3 separate regions of the Homo sapiens genome follow, and regions 1 and 2 are each linked to region 3. Evidence: promoter capture Hi-C in human tissues and cell types (Jung and others, 2019). All regions are on one chromosome and are shown on one strand. Each heading gives the region's core, a stretch centred on a gene start or on the middle of the fragment in contact. The rest is flanking DNA. Distances are from core to core; before and after follow the strand shown.

Region 1 (3,993 bases), core at 768-3,267, 150 kb before region 3:
GTTTGCTGACAAGTTCCCGGAAAACAGTGTGAGTCAAAGCAAAACAGGTGCTAGCCAATAATGAAATTACACATTTTCATTACAAAAACATTGGAGTAAGGTATCTATGAAATGAGAATGGCGCTGAGTAAACTCGTGGTGTGTTGTGTGCAAATATATTGTTAGTATGTATCTCAGAAATGAAAAAATAACCACTTGCATCTCCTTCATGACCCTTCAAAAATATGAGGGTTTTTGTCTTCCATGTCAGTTGGGGATGACCATGGAGAGGAAGCATCATTCTAACAAAGATCTGCCAGTTCAGAGTTAGAGTCTATAGAGGAAAAATAGTAGTAGTCCAAGCCAGGTCTTGACATCTGTTAGCTTTCTGCCTTTGGTGTGATTGATGACATAAGTAACAATGGATAATCATGTTATCTATTTTAATGAGACAATCTATTTATCAATTTAGTTACAAACTGTGAAATAGTTGAGATGTCCTGAATCATAAGCTACAAATAATAGAACAAGTAACAAGCAAAATTAGGACTTAACAACATTTTCAAAAGATCATAACATTTTAATATTAGAACATATGTGAAAATACACATTGGGTTTCATTTGGGATTCCAAAATAATTTCAGCAAAAAAGTTCAAGAACAAATTATTCCATTGCTTTACTATTTCTCTGAGCACCTTAAAATGTGGTTTCATTAAACATTTATAATAACCTAGTGAATAAGGTAGTAAAACCTTCATTCTTTAGAAGAAGACATTGAGCCTAAGAGAAGAGACTTGTTCAAGAACAAATACCCATTGGTCCTATTATGAGTCAGATCATTTTCCATTATGTCAACTTCACATGAGTTAATTTACTGAGTTATACTGTCCTCACTTCATACTTTTTTCTTCTTTAATTAGAAGCTTAATAAGAGTTTTGTAGAGCTTACAAACTAAAAGTGTATAATTAAAGTTCTGATATTGTTTGATATACTCTTAAGAATTTAATGTATTTGGTAAAGTTTTTCATATCAGTATTAAAATAGTAATTGTATTTACTGCATTTTGATACATAGCATTCGTGGAATGATTTCTGAATATAAAGCAAACAAGAGATGTAAAAGTCTTCAAAATAGCAATTCAGGTATGACTTCTGATAGTGAATTCCTCTCGATGGTCCTGTCATAGATAAAAAAGTAAGAGGAAGGAAGTTTTGATCACAAAACAGCAGTTTAAAAAAACCACTGTAAATTGAATGTATATTTTTTAATTACTTTCTTAGTAATCTAGATTTCAGAATTATTTAAAAAGTTACTTGTAGGCAAGTTATAATCTCAAGCAGTATTATCTGAAAAAAACTCATTATCGTAGTTTCTGAAATTCTAGATGATATTTTTGTGTAAATAAGAAAAAAGATTAAGTTAGTATGTGGTATGTTTTCTTTATAGTCACCTTATGATGAATTGGATTTGTTATAACATTGGATATTTTAATTTATAAAACAAATGCTTTGCATTTAGTAAATACATATTACAGCTGAGCCTTGAGTAGTGTGGGATTTAGGGGTACCAGTCCCCCATTCAGTTTGAAATCTGTATATAACTCTGGACTCCCCCCTAAAACTTAACTACTCATGACTTATTGTTGACTAGAAACCTTATTGATTATACAGTTAATTAAGACATATTAGTTATATGTATTATATACTGTATTGTTACTACAATAAAGTAAACTAGAGAAGAAGAAACTTATAAAGAAATTCATAATGAAGAAAGAATATATTTTTATTCAGTGGAAAGTGGATCATCATAAAGCTCTTCATCCTCAGAGTCTTCAAGTTGGCTAGGCTGAGGAGGAGTAGGAGGTAGAGGGAGATTGATCTTGCCATCTCAGGTGGCAGAGGCAGAAGAAAGTCTGCAGATGAGCGGGCCCTTGCAGTTCAAACCTGTGTTGTTCAGAGATTAACTCTGACATGGTGATTTGTGTCACTTAAAAAGTAACTGTCTTTAAAATAAGAATTTCAATGAGACCTTTCTGGTACCATGAACAAACATCAATAAGAACTGTACCAATACCAATAGGATGTTATTTTTTAAAGATACCTACTGTGTAGAGAAGTCAGAAAATAAATTCCTTATTGAGAAGCACAGGCCGTGTTACATATTCTCATACCAAGAATGTCTCACTAGTATTGACTTAATTCCCCCCAAGTGGAAATAAAATGAGATATATTTACTTCGTTAGGGTGAGATTTGTTCTATCTGCTAGTTAATTGTCATGATAATATCAATTTTGTTAGAAGAAGACACTCTGTTACCATTAGCTAAAATATTATTATAATAATATTCGAATAGCCCAACTCTAGGCTCAGCACATTATAGTAAAAGTACAGCAACCATTACCAGAACAGACCGGGGGCTGCCTCTTTGAAGTAGGACACATGCTGTGCCACACAGCCCCACAACTTAAAAATACATGTAGGATAATGGTATAATTAAGTATGATGTGTTGCATTAAAAATATGCCACAGCACTCTCCCATAAGCTTTGACATTTATCCTCTCAGGATCATGATTTGCTATTCTTAACTGAAAAACACTTTTTTTTTGCAAGCCATTAGGTTCATTTTGGAATGTGTGTACTTTTCTTTTTTTTAATTATACAACATTTTATTTAAAAACAATTCATAGAATACATTTTCACATTAGAGATTCCCATAGTGGGAAAATAGCAATGTATTACTTATAGTTTCATATTCATGGACAGATTGTTTCAGAACAAGTAAAACACATTTGAGACTTGAGTCTCAGTTTAGAATTTGTAATATTTTGATATGTCTACAAGGGGAACCTTGCCCTTAAATGGAACTTCTCTATATTCAGAAGCACTCCAAGCTTTTCTTCCTAAGATTTAGAAATTCATAATGTGAGATATCAGCATTTCCTAATTTTAAAATTTCCCCAGTATATGTAACCATCAGTAGGTGGTATCTACTGAATAGAGAGGGAAGTTTTCAAAAACTGAACACTCTCTAATTTTCTGCGATGTTTTTATTCATGAATTAACAGTATTTCCCTTTGTCCATCATTCCCAGGGCAAAAACAGAAATTTGATCATATATTAATAGTAATAAAGCTGGATTCTCTTTAAGAGATTGATAAAAGGCAAAAGCTCGTATCATGTTTAGTTATACTGTGACTCTTATGAGAAGCTGGGAGGCAACCCCATTAACTCACCGCAATACAAAACTCAGTCTCACAATTTCTTAGTCGTAATTCCTCTCAAACCTTTTCCTCAAATATTAAATTTGGAAAACAATCTTGTGATTAAGAGAAGAAGGCTGTCCACCAATGGACTTACCCTGTTATTTCTTCCTTATTGTGAGTTGAATGGCATGACAAAGCAGAGGCAAAGAGGCATACATCAGTTCTTCAAAGTATTAAGTCAGAAAGGTCAGAGCTTCCACAGCGTGGCAACAGCTTTGCAGATGCCCACATCATGGTAGTTGAAATAGCAAAGCCCAGCAAAGGTTAAAGCTGAAAGTGCCAGAAGCTCTGCCTTGGGAGCTTTCTGCAAGGCATCCCCATGAACATAGTCAGTAACAACTTGTCCAAGGCCCGAGTAACTATGAAGAGTGAGGGTTGCAGCAAGGAGTAGAGTCCGTCACAGAGCCAAGGATTCAAATAAGCAGCTGGAAGCAGGCCCAGGAGCAAAACACTGACGACCCTCTCACTAGTCCAGTGGAGAGACGCAACCTGGGAACCAGAATGGTGGCTTGGTGACAAGCCAATGTACTCACTCCACACCATTCGGGGGTAGGTCGGTTCTGAAGTAATGCTGAGATAGGAGCAGGTGTGACCACTGGGGTTCGCAGCAACAGAGCTCAGCCTCCTTGGGCACCGCGAAGGGTACTCAGTCTCCAGAGAACCGCCATCTCATTCCTGAAAACTCAAGGTCATCCACCAACCCCCACTTTGTATTTTAGTTATAGTCGGTTAAAACATAAACTCGCTTT
Region 2 (4,664 bases), core at 187-2,686, 240 kb before region 3:
GATGTGGGACGGTGGTGGAGGTCCCTTGCTGATGGTGTCATCTCTTTTTAGGGACATCGTGTCCCTGATGAACTGGAAATGGAGCCAGTTCTGTATGTTAGTGTTTTTGTTCACGTGGCCAGGAGCTTTAAATAACCTCATTCTGCTTTGCGCTCACATCCCTCATCTTTCAGGCTAAAAGTACTCCAGTCGCAGTCACGATTTGGTTGTAGTGGGATTGGGTGAGCAGCCCGAGGCCAGGTGCTTGTTCCCCTCAGAGCACCCGGCACACCTCGGTGGTCCCGATTTTGCCCAGGCACTGCTGCCCAGGTGCAGTCTGTGGCCCCTGAGTGTGCACAACAGTAACTGGCTTCAGCTTCTGTGAGAAGAGCCATCCTGGGGAATGAGTCATGTGAAGAGGCACCTTAGCCCCTCTGCAGTTATGGCCTGCCGTGATTTCCTTAGCCCAGAATCTCAGGGTCATCCAGTGGCTCTGAGAGAGGGGTTCCCATTCCCTGCATACTGCCTGGAACCGCCTGTCCTGAATGGGCCAGTTTAGGTTTTCACTGATTCTTTTCGGCCTTTCTCCCACATGGATGAATCTGGTGATATTTTAACTGCATTGTGAGACAGGTACTGTAGGGAACAGAAGAATGCCAGACAAATGAGAGAAGCCTCAGACTAGCAGCAGCTGCATGGGAGATTTTACAAGCTCCATAATACCTGCATGTCTGGGTTTGAAAAGGCGGAAGTGCACTGCTGCTTGTTTCTGCCTTGTGTGTCTCTGGCGTGGACATCATGCAGGGCCCCCCATCTCATTCCCTGCCAGTTACACTCTTTCTTCTGCTCTCCCATCAGCCTCCCTGCCGCCTCCCCTCTTGACCCACTTCCAGCCTCTCTTAAAAATTCCTTTCCTGGCAACCTTTCTTCATTGTCTCTATTTATTCCTACTTCTTTCCTCCCTGGCTGATGCCTGTGTGCCCAGATGGCCTTCGAGGCAGCGAGAGGAGCTATGGCCATGGCCCATCTCTGCTGCTGTGAGCCCGTGCGGCCAGGAAAGTGGCGGGCCAGGATGGATGAGGTGTCAGGAGAGGGCCCGCCACTGTGTGAGGGACACGAAGGGCAAGATTGTGCAAAGGAGAGGAGGTGGCTGCAGGAGAGCCCAGAGCAGGGGAAGGGAGAAGTCATGGGGGCCTCTGAGGGGCAACCAGCAGTTGGACTCACCAGTTAGAGCTTCTGATCCCAGAGAGGCCTTGGAATGGCCTCTGGCCCTGCCTCACCTTCCCTCTCCAGAAGTGTTTTGTTTGGCAGTGAAAAAAGTAGCTTTAATTACAGCTGTGCGTGCCAGGAGGTGCCCACTCCAGCCTCATTGTGTAACTGGTGGTGAGGAAGCATGCTACTAAGCATGCTCGGGTGAACTTTGCTCTATATTTCACTGGATTATAACACTGAACTCTATTAACATGCTCTTGGCATCCTGGCTGCCCGCCCGTGTAGCTCAGTCAGGCTGCAACTCTGCGTCCTCCCAGCCTGCAGGCTGCTAGCTCAAGCACCAACTCCACTAGGGCAAGGGCTTTGTCCAGGGCCCCTTTATGTGGCCCCCAGTAGGCCTGGTAATTTCGTAGAATGAAGGAAACATGAAGTGCTCATGTTCTGAAACTCATTTGTGACTTTAGAAAAATTCTGATGGATAAAATGCATAGCAGATAGCTGCTGCTAGTCTGAGGCTTCTCTCATTTGTCTGGTATTCTTCTGTTCCCTACAGTACCTGTCTCACAATGCTATAAAATATCACCAAATTCCTCCATATGGGAGAAAGGCCAAAAAGAATCAGTGAAAACCTAAACTGGCCCATTCAGGACAGGCGGTTCCACGTGTTTTCTACCATGGTTGTTTTCTTTCCTATGGGTAGATGGACTTCAGGAGGTGACAGTGCATGCTCTTCAGCAGCACGGTCTCTTGGCACCATGCAGACCCAATTTCAGATCCTGATTCTGCCGCTTTTTTTTTTTTTTTTCTGAGATGGAGTCTTGCTCTGTCACCCAGGCTGGAGTGCAGTGGCACAATCTTGGCTCACTGCAACCTCCACCTCCTGGGTTCAAGTGATTCTTCTGCCTCCCAAGCAGCTGGGATTACAGGTGCGCACCACCACACCTGACTAATTTTGTATTTTTAGTAGAGACGGGGTTTCACCATGTTGGCCAGGCTGGTCTCAAACTCCTGACCTCAAGTGATCCACCCGCCTCGGCCTCCCAGAGTGTTGGGCTTACAGGTGTGAGCCACCACACCTGGCCGATTCTGCCACTTTCTAAGGTGACTAGAACTCGAGCAAGTTCCTTAACCTCTCTGAATCTCAGTCCTCATATTGAAAACGGGGATGCTGATGATAATAAAAATAACCGAGAGGATTAAATAAGTTACGCATATAAAGCACCCAGCATAGTGCCTGGGGCACAGTATCCTAAAATGAGAACCATTATCAAAGAAGAAACTTGAATCTTTGCACAAAACCAATCAAGTCATGCCCCGTTGTTAAAATTAGGACTTGTTTCTGGAGGACACAGTCATTAAAACAAGCACCACTAATCTCTCTCTCTTTCTCCCTCTCTCTTTCTGCTTCCCTTGGCTTCCCCTTTCTTATTTCTATTATGCCTTGCTGGAATATCTTCAACTCACAAGTTAAAAAACAGCACTGGATAGAGGTAAAGGATTAGAAGAAGGCAAGAATTTTATTAGCTGCTTCTTCAAATTCTACCATGCAAATTTCAGACATACACAAAGTACACAGAAAAAGCAAAATGATGCCCCATGACCCCTCACATGGCAGCACGCCTGCTTCGTGTGTGTCCACCAGCTCCCGCCACCCCCAGCTGCCTGGAGCCAATCCCAGGCATCAGGTCACTTCCTAGTCAGTACTTCAGCGTGTCTCCAAAAACAGACTGCTCTCTTACAAATACAATCACATCATCAATATCACTCTCTACCCAAAATGCATCCCTAAAATCAGCAAATAATCCCATCAGTGTTCAAATTTCCAATTGTCTCGTTTTTATGGAAAGTGGCCTCCTAAGGTCATAGTCTGCGTTCTGGGGGGACTTCCTGTTCCTGGGTCAGTCTTTGTTGCCTTTTCACTGGACTGTGCTAGGAAGTACGTATTTTTTATTTGTTTTGTTTTGTTTTTTGAAACAGGATCTCACTCTGTCACCCAGGCTGGAGTGCGGTGGTGCAGTCTTGGCTCACTGCAGCCTCCACATCCTAGGTTCAAGCAATTCTCCTGCCTCATCCTCCTGAGTAGCTGGGACTACAGGCATGCGCCACCACATCTGGCTAATTTTTTTGTATTTTTTAGTAGAGACGGGGTTTCACCATGTTGGCCAGGCTGGTCTCAAACTGCTGACCTCAAGTGAGCCTTTTGCCTCGGCCTCCGAAAGTGCTGGGGTTACAGTTGTGAGCCACTGCACCTGACCATATTTTTAAAATATAGAGTCGATAATGAGTTATACTGGGTTTTTTTTTTTCTGTTTTTTTTTTTCTGAGATGGAGTTTCACTCTTGTTGCCCAGGCTGGAGTGCAATGGGGCGATCTCGGCTCACTGCAACCTCCGCCTCCCTGGTTCAAGTGATTTTCCTCCTAAGCCTCCCAAGTAGCTGGGATTACAGGCGCATGCCACCATGCCCAGCTAATTTTTGTATTTTTAGTGGAGACAGGGTTTTGTCATGTTGGCCAGGCTGGTCTTGAACTCCTGACCTCAGGTGATCCACCCGCCCGGGCCTCCCAAAGTATTGGGATTACAGGCATGAGCCACCACACCCGGCCTCAACCCCATCTCTTAAAAAAATAAAAAGATAACCTTTGCTCTCAGTAACAGTTGACAAGCTTGTTCTATGGGTCATGTCCTCTCTCTGTCACCTGTCCACCTCTGGATGGTTGTGCTGCATCCTCATTGGGATAGCACCCAGCCACTGTGTGCCACGCTCTCACCTCAAAGCCATCATTCAGTCATGGTTCCACAGGTGGGTACAGATTTAACGCCACCACTGTCCTGTGTGCTGATGCTTCTCCAGTCATTCTGGTTGTGTGAAGTACATTCTCTAGTATAGCATTTTTAAAGCTTTTTGATCTTAGGACAAACCCATTCATACTCCTAAAAAAATTACTGAAGGCCTTTAAAACATTTATTAATTCATTTTAAGATTAAAAATTCATTACATTTTAACGTGAATAATATATTTTTATGGGAACTAATCATATTTTCCAAAATAAGAAAGCTTTAGTGAGGAGAGTGGGATAGTTTTACATTTTTTCCAAATTTCTTTATGTCTGGCTTAATGTAAGACAACTAGATTCTCATATCTGCTTCTGCATTCAATCTGTTATAATAAGTTGTTTTGGTGTCTTTTATTATTATTATTATTTTTTAGAGACAGTCTTGTTCTGTTGACCACACTGGAGTGCAATGGTGTGATCGTAGCTCAATGCAGCCCCAACTCCAGGGCCCGAATGATCCTCCCACCTCAGCCTCCCAAGTAGCTAGGACTACAGGTGCTCACCACCATGCCCGGATAATTTAAAAAATATTTTTGTAGAGACAGGGTCTCGATAGGTTTCCCAGGCTGGTCTCGAATTCCTGGCCTCAAGCCATCCTCCCACCTCAGCGTCTCAAAGTGCTGGAATTACAGGTGTGA
Region 3 (4,603 bases), core at 1,685-4,184:
TTGCTGTCGTGGTCAGTCCCACTCACGCTGCTGGAGCTGACCAGGCCGGCCCTTCCCTCATGGCATTTGAGTCTCACACACCCTGTGAGACAGACAGGCCGCTGCCCTGTGACAGATGAAGATCTGAGGCTTGGGGTAGTTATGTGACTGGCCCAAGGTCACCCAGCTAGAGGAGGCAAAACCAGGCTAGGAACCTAGGTCTCTGCACTCCAGAGCATGGGCTGTGCCCAGCACATGCTGAGACTCGGGGAGTGGGGAGGCATCCATACTTTGGAGAAAGAGCAGAGCCCACTGTGGCATCACCCCACAGATACTGCTGGGAGCCGAGGGAAGGCAATGCTGAGGTCCCTCCCTGAGGGTGTGGGTGTCAGGTGGAGCCCACTGTTCACAGCTGCACAGGCTCTGTGACAACAAACATTTGGTGAATTGAACTAAAAAGCTGGGTTCCCAATCCTGGTTGCCCGGGCACAGAGTAGTTGTTGAACATGGATGAATGAAACCTGTCGAGTGAGAGTGGAATGAATTTGTGTGCTGGAGACGAGAATATGCTGGAAGGCTGGGCATGACTCGCACTGTTGTCTTCTCCATCATCTGTTGGGTTTGCAGCCAAGTCCCCTGGAGCTCAGTCTGCCCTCTGCCCTCTCCCACCTCTCCCCACCACCCTCCTAGCGCAGCACTCCAGGATTCCCACTCAGCAGCAGGGCAGTGACCGACTTTTACTCCCAGCCTGAAGATCTGCATGAGAACCAATGCACACCAGGGCTATGCTGCCTCCGTGACCAAGGGGTCCCCAGGGCCTGGTCTCACCACCATCTCCGCTTCCACCACAGACTTGCTCCCGTCCAGGATTCCTCATCTCTCCAGTCTCCCAAGCTCAAAACCCCAGGGTGATCTCCTGCTGGGTCCCTTCTGCCATCGCCATGGCCTGGAAATGTTTGCTAGTCCCCACCCCACCCCCATGTCCACACTCAGTGCCCAGGTCTTTATTTTTATTTTGTTAGAAGTGATAATGTCACTATGGTTATGTATGAGATCATGTCCTTGTTTCTCCAGAGATGCAAGCTAAAGGATTTAATTTGGAAGGGTTCAAATTCAAATATAAAGAACAAAGAAATATGTCAAAATGTTAACAGTGGTTGAATCCAGGGGCTGGGTGTAAGTGTGCTCATTGTACTGTTCTCTCTTATCTATCTATCTATCTATCTATCTATCTATCTATCTATCTATCTTATATATAGATAGATAGATATATACACACAAACAGATTTTTTTCTTTCTTTAGAGAGAAAGTCTCACTCTGTTGCCCATATTGGAGTGCAGTGACATGATCACAGCTCACTGCAACCTCAAACTCCTGGGCTCAGGTGATCCTCCCTCCTCAGCCTCCTGAGTAGCTAGCACTACAGGTGCTCGCCGTCATGCTTGGCTAATTATCGTTATTTTTGTGTAGAGATAGTAGTCTCACAGTGTTACCCAGGCTGGTCTCAAATTCCTGGCTTCAAGCCATCCTCCTGTTTTGGCCTCCCAAAGTACTGGGATTACAGATGTAAGCCAGTACCCTCAGCCCTGTTCTTTCTATGTATCTCTATATTTGAACTTTTTCACAATAAAAAGGTTAGAGGTAAGTTGACCTGAATTGATTGGACCCATTTTCTCATCCATCACATTGGGGCTGTGAGTGGGAGGGGCAGTGAATGACCTCCTAAAGCTGTGTCCGCTCAGTGCCTCTGGGGGAAGCTGCCCCCTGTGAGCCTGGAGCTGGGTGTTCCCAGCAGGCGGAGTCCTTGACTCTGGAAGGCAATTGCCTTTGGCTTCAACAGTCCTGCAAGTCACAAGGCTTGTTGACCACGGTGACCCTTTCTGAGAGCCAGCGGAGGAAGAGGGCGGGCATAGGGTCAGGTCTTAAGAGATCAGGTCAGTCTGCTCAAACCAGGTGGGCTCAGGAGGAGCCGGCGAGGGTCCCGCTGCAGCTCCCGAAACGCTGTTTCCAGGCGGCAGTCAGCAGTTGGGCACGAGAGGATATCCTAGCAAGCCTCCATCCCAGAAAGTTACACCTCTTACTGCCCGAGTCCCACCCCTCAACACTGAGCCCACCTCTTCAGTCCTGTAGTGAGGGGTTCTGGGAACCCCTTGTAACTGCCCGCCTTCCTCGGAGGTCTCAGAGGCCCTAATTGCGTCTTCCGATGGGAACAACCATGAGAGCAGGGTGTGGACGGAAGTCCCCCAGCCCCAGCGGGGTTCACTCTTTGCCTCCTCACTCTGCGAGGGTCCCTTACTACAGCTAAAAGGCAATTCATGCAGTCCAAAGGCTCCTTTCCCCTCCCGTTCTGCATGCCCTTCTCACTGTCCCCAAATGCTCATGACATGGCCTTGAGAGCAGCGCAGCGGGCAGGAAGCCCAGGCGCCTCGGAGAACCTGAAGGGCTGCAGGTCCCGGTGTCTGCGGCAGCTTCCGCATCCCTGCAGGGAACCAGCGGCTCGCTGAGCCTGGGGCTGGGCTCTGGGGGACTCCAGAGCTGGAGGCAAGTGGCGCTCACATCCGTCTCCTCACCTGCCCCACCCGTGGCCTGGGTTTAAAATCCACATACCCGTCTTTCCGCGGCCAAAGTGATGCTGCCAGGATTGGTTATGACCCCAACTGCCCCGACCCCCAGAAGTGCAAAACGAACAGGCTGGCAAGTGACCAAAAGAGACCCGGGGAGCATCTGGGCTTCCAAGGTCCTCGGTACGGCCCAAGGCAGCGAAGGACGCGCGGCTCCAGGCTGCGGGAGCCAGGACGACCGGGGGCTCCCAGAGCGCGAAGTCGCGATCCTCGGCGGTGGAGAGCTCGTGCCAAAACGTCCTCCCCTGCGCCAGTCAGGCCTTCGCGGGGCTGGCAGGCGGGCGGGGGCGGGGCCGCCGCACTTTAAGAGGCTGTGCAGGCAGACAGACCTCCAGGCCCGCTAGGGGATCCGCGCCATGGAGGCCGCCCGGGACTATGCAGGAGCCCTCATCAGGCGAGTGCCCCGCGTCCCCCTGATTGCCGTGCGCTTCCAATCGCCTTGCGTTCGGTGGCCTCATATTCCCCTGTGCGCCTCTAGTACCGTACCCCGCTCCCTTCAGCCCCCTGCTCCCCGCATTCTCTTGCGCTCCGCGACCCCGCGCACACACCCATCCGCCCCACTGGTGCCCAAGCCGTCCAGCCGCGCCCGCGGGCAGAGCCCAATCCCGTCCCGCGCCTCCTCACCCTCTTGCAGCTGGGCACAGGTACCAGGTGTGGCTCTTGCGAGGTGCGCGGGCGTCTGCAAACCAGGTGACAGCTGGCGAGTGGCTGCATGCATCTCTGGCCGCTGCTGCAGTCGCGGGCGCAGAAGAGGGTCCGGTCCCAGGAACCCCGAGCAAAGCTTCCGCGATGCGAGGGGACCGGGCTTCTGGGGGTCCTGGAAATCACAACGGGAGCTGGGCGCGGGAGGGGCCCAGGCTTGGCCCCTCCTGGAAGCGCGGGCTCTGGTCTCCGAGGGGAGGCCCCAACCGTCCGGCGGAGCCCTCCAGGTTGGTGGTGCTGGGAGAAGCGCTCCTCCTTGCCTCCGGGTCCAAGGGCGGAGACGCTGCCTGGGGAGCAGGGGGGACAAGGGGCGGGTGGACCCTGAGGAGTCTTCCCTGCGCTTCGCACCCGCTCGTGGTCGAACAGGCAGCATTGGCTATTTTCCTGCTTGGGTTAATATTCATATCCCAACAGACCCAAGCCAATTCTTGGTAAAATCCTAAGTCATTGCGTGGCAGCAACTGTAAAGTAAGGTCTAAGAGGGAGATCGTGTTTCTCTGAAGATCAAGTACCTGGAAAAGGATAGAGAACCATTTGCGGGCTTGAAGGTGCAGGCGTTCAGCGGCGCCGGGTCCCACTGTGTGTGCTACGTGTGGCGGGCAGAGAGACTACATGTGTGAAAGGGAGCGGTCCGGCTACGAAACGCAATCTATGAGCTTCCAATCCCGGGTTCTTAAATGGGAGCTGTTGTAGACACTGCAGGTTAGAAGCATCTTTCTCTTTAAAAATAAGCCCACAGTACAAGTCGGGGCGGTGGCAGGGGGACGCTGAGAAACACCTGCTTCGTGTATGGTCATTAACACGCTTAGGCCTAAAGGTCAGGGCCCTGTATCTTTTGCGTTCTTCCAGAACCATCCACACCACAGTCCCACTTCCAGGAGGGGAGGTCTTAGCAGTTTGGAATGCGTCCTTCCAACCACTTTTCCAGTGAATTCACAACACACCCACTGTTCCTCCGGAGCATGGGGGAAGGAGGTGTGGGCTGACTCGCACTAACCAATCCTGGTTGGCCTCTGAGCAGGATTCAGGCTGAGCCTGTCCCTGCCTCTGACTATTATAACAGCTCACCAAAATCCAAAATGCATCTGTGTGGGGTCTCTGTGAGGTCGTGTGAAGTGGAAGTGACTTGCTTATGAGCTGTTGACAAATGAAACATTGGGAAACCTTGAGTCTCCTAGGACACATTCCTTCCAGCTTGGCTCATCCCAGGAGTGAATGACTCTACCTGTTATGGACAAGCTGTTGCTGCAGTTCTTTGAAATCTACCTGCTTCCAGGCTGAACTACTGTCATTCTGTGAA

The links. The method cuts DNA at HindIII sites, captures the fragments that hold promoters and counts their contacts. A contact is called where the count stands out against the background at its distance.
Region 1: a contact is called between a fragment that was not itself captured here and the fragment with the promoter of CIDEA in region 3, in 6 of the 25 tissues and cell types used here (H1 embryonic stem cells, liver, lymphoblastoid cells and 3 more).
Region 2: a contact is called between a fragment that was not itself captured here and the fragment with the promoter of CIDEA in region 3, in 4 of the 25 tissues and cell types used here (bladder, lymphoblastoid cells, mesenchymal stem cells and 1 more).

Annotation. Positions count from the first base shown.
Region 1 is chr18:12,098,560-12,102,552 of GRCh38, forward strand. ANKRD62 (ankyrin repeat domain 62) reads left to right here. Exons shown (of 14, transcript NM_001277333.2): 6 at 1,056-1,123. It also overlaps the pseudogene SDHDP1. Among named protein-coding and RNA genes, the nearest start is that of ANKRD62, 6.7 kb to the left of the region's middle. The HindIII fragment of the contact is 3,311 bases long and covers 363-3,673 here.
Region 2 is chr18:12,014,446-12,019,109 of GRCh38, forward strand. All of the region lies in intron 5 of IMPA2 (inositol monophosphatase 2), which reads left to right. Among named protein-coding and RNA genes, the nearest start is that of IMPA2, 35 kb to the left of the region's middle. The HindIII fragment of the contact is 5,071 bases long and covers 1-3,972 here.
Region 3 is chr18:12,251,427-12,256,029 of GRCh38, forward strand. CIDEA (cell death inducing DFFA like effector a) reads left to right here and starts at 2,935. Exons shown (of 5, transcript NM_001279.4): 1 at 2,935-2,995. The coding sequence starts at 2,958. It overlaps LOC105371996 (a long non-coding RNA gene), which reads left to right and starts at 3,587. Exons shown (of 2, transcript XR_935158.3): 1 at 3,587-4,005; 2 at 4,153-4,603. RefSeq lists an enhancer at 2,071-2,677. The HindIII fragment of the contact is 10,266 bases long and covers 1-4,291 here.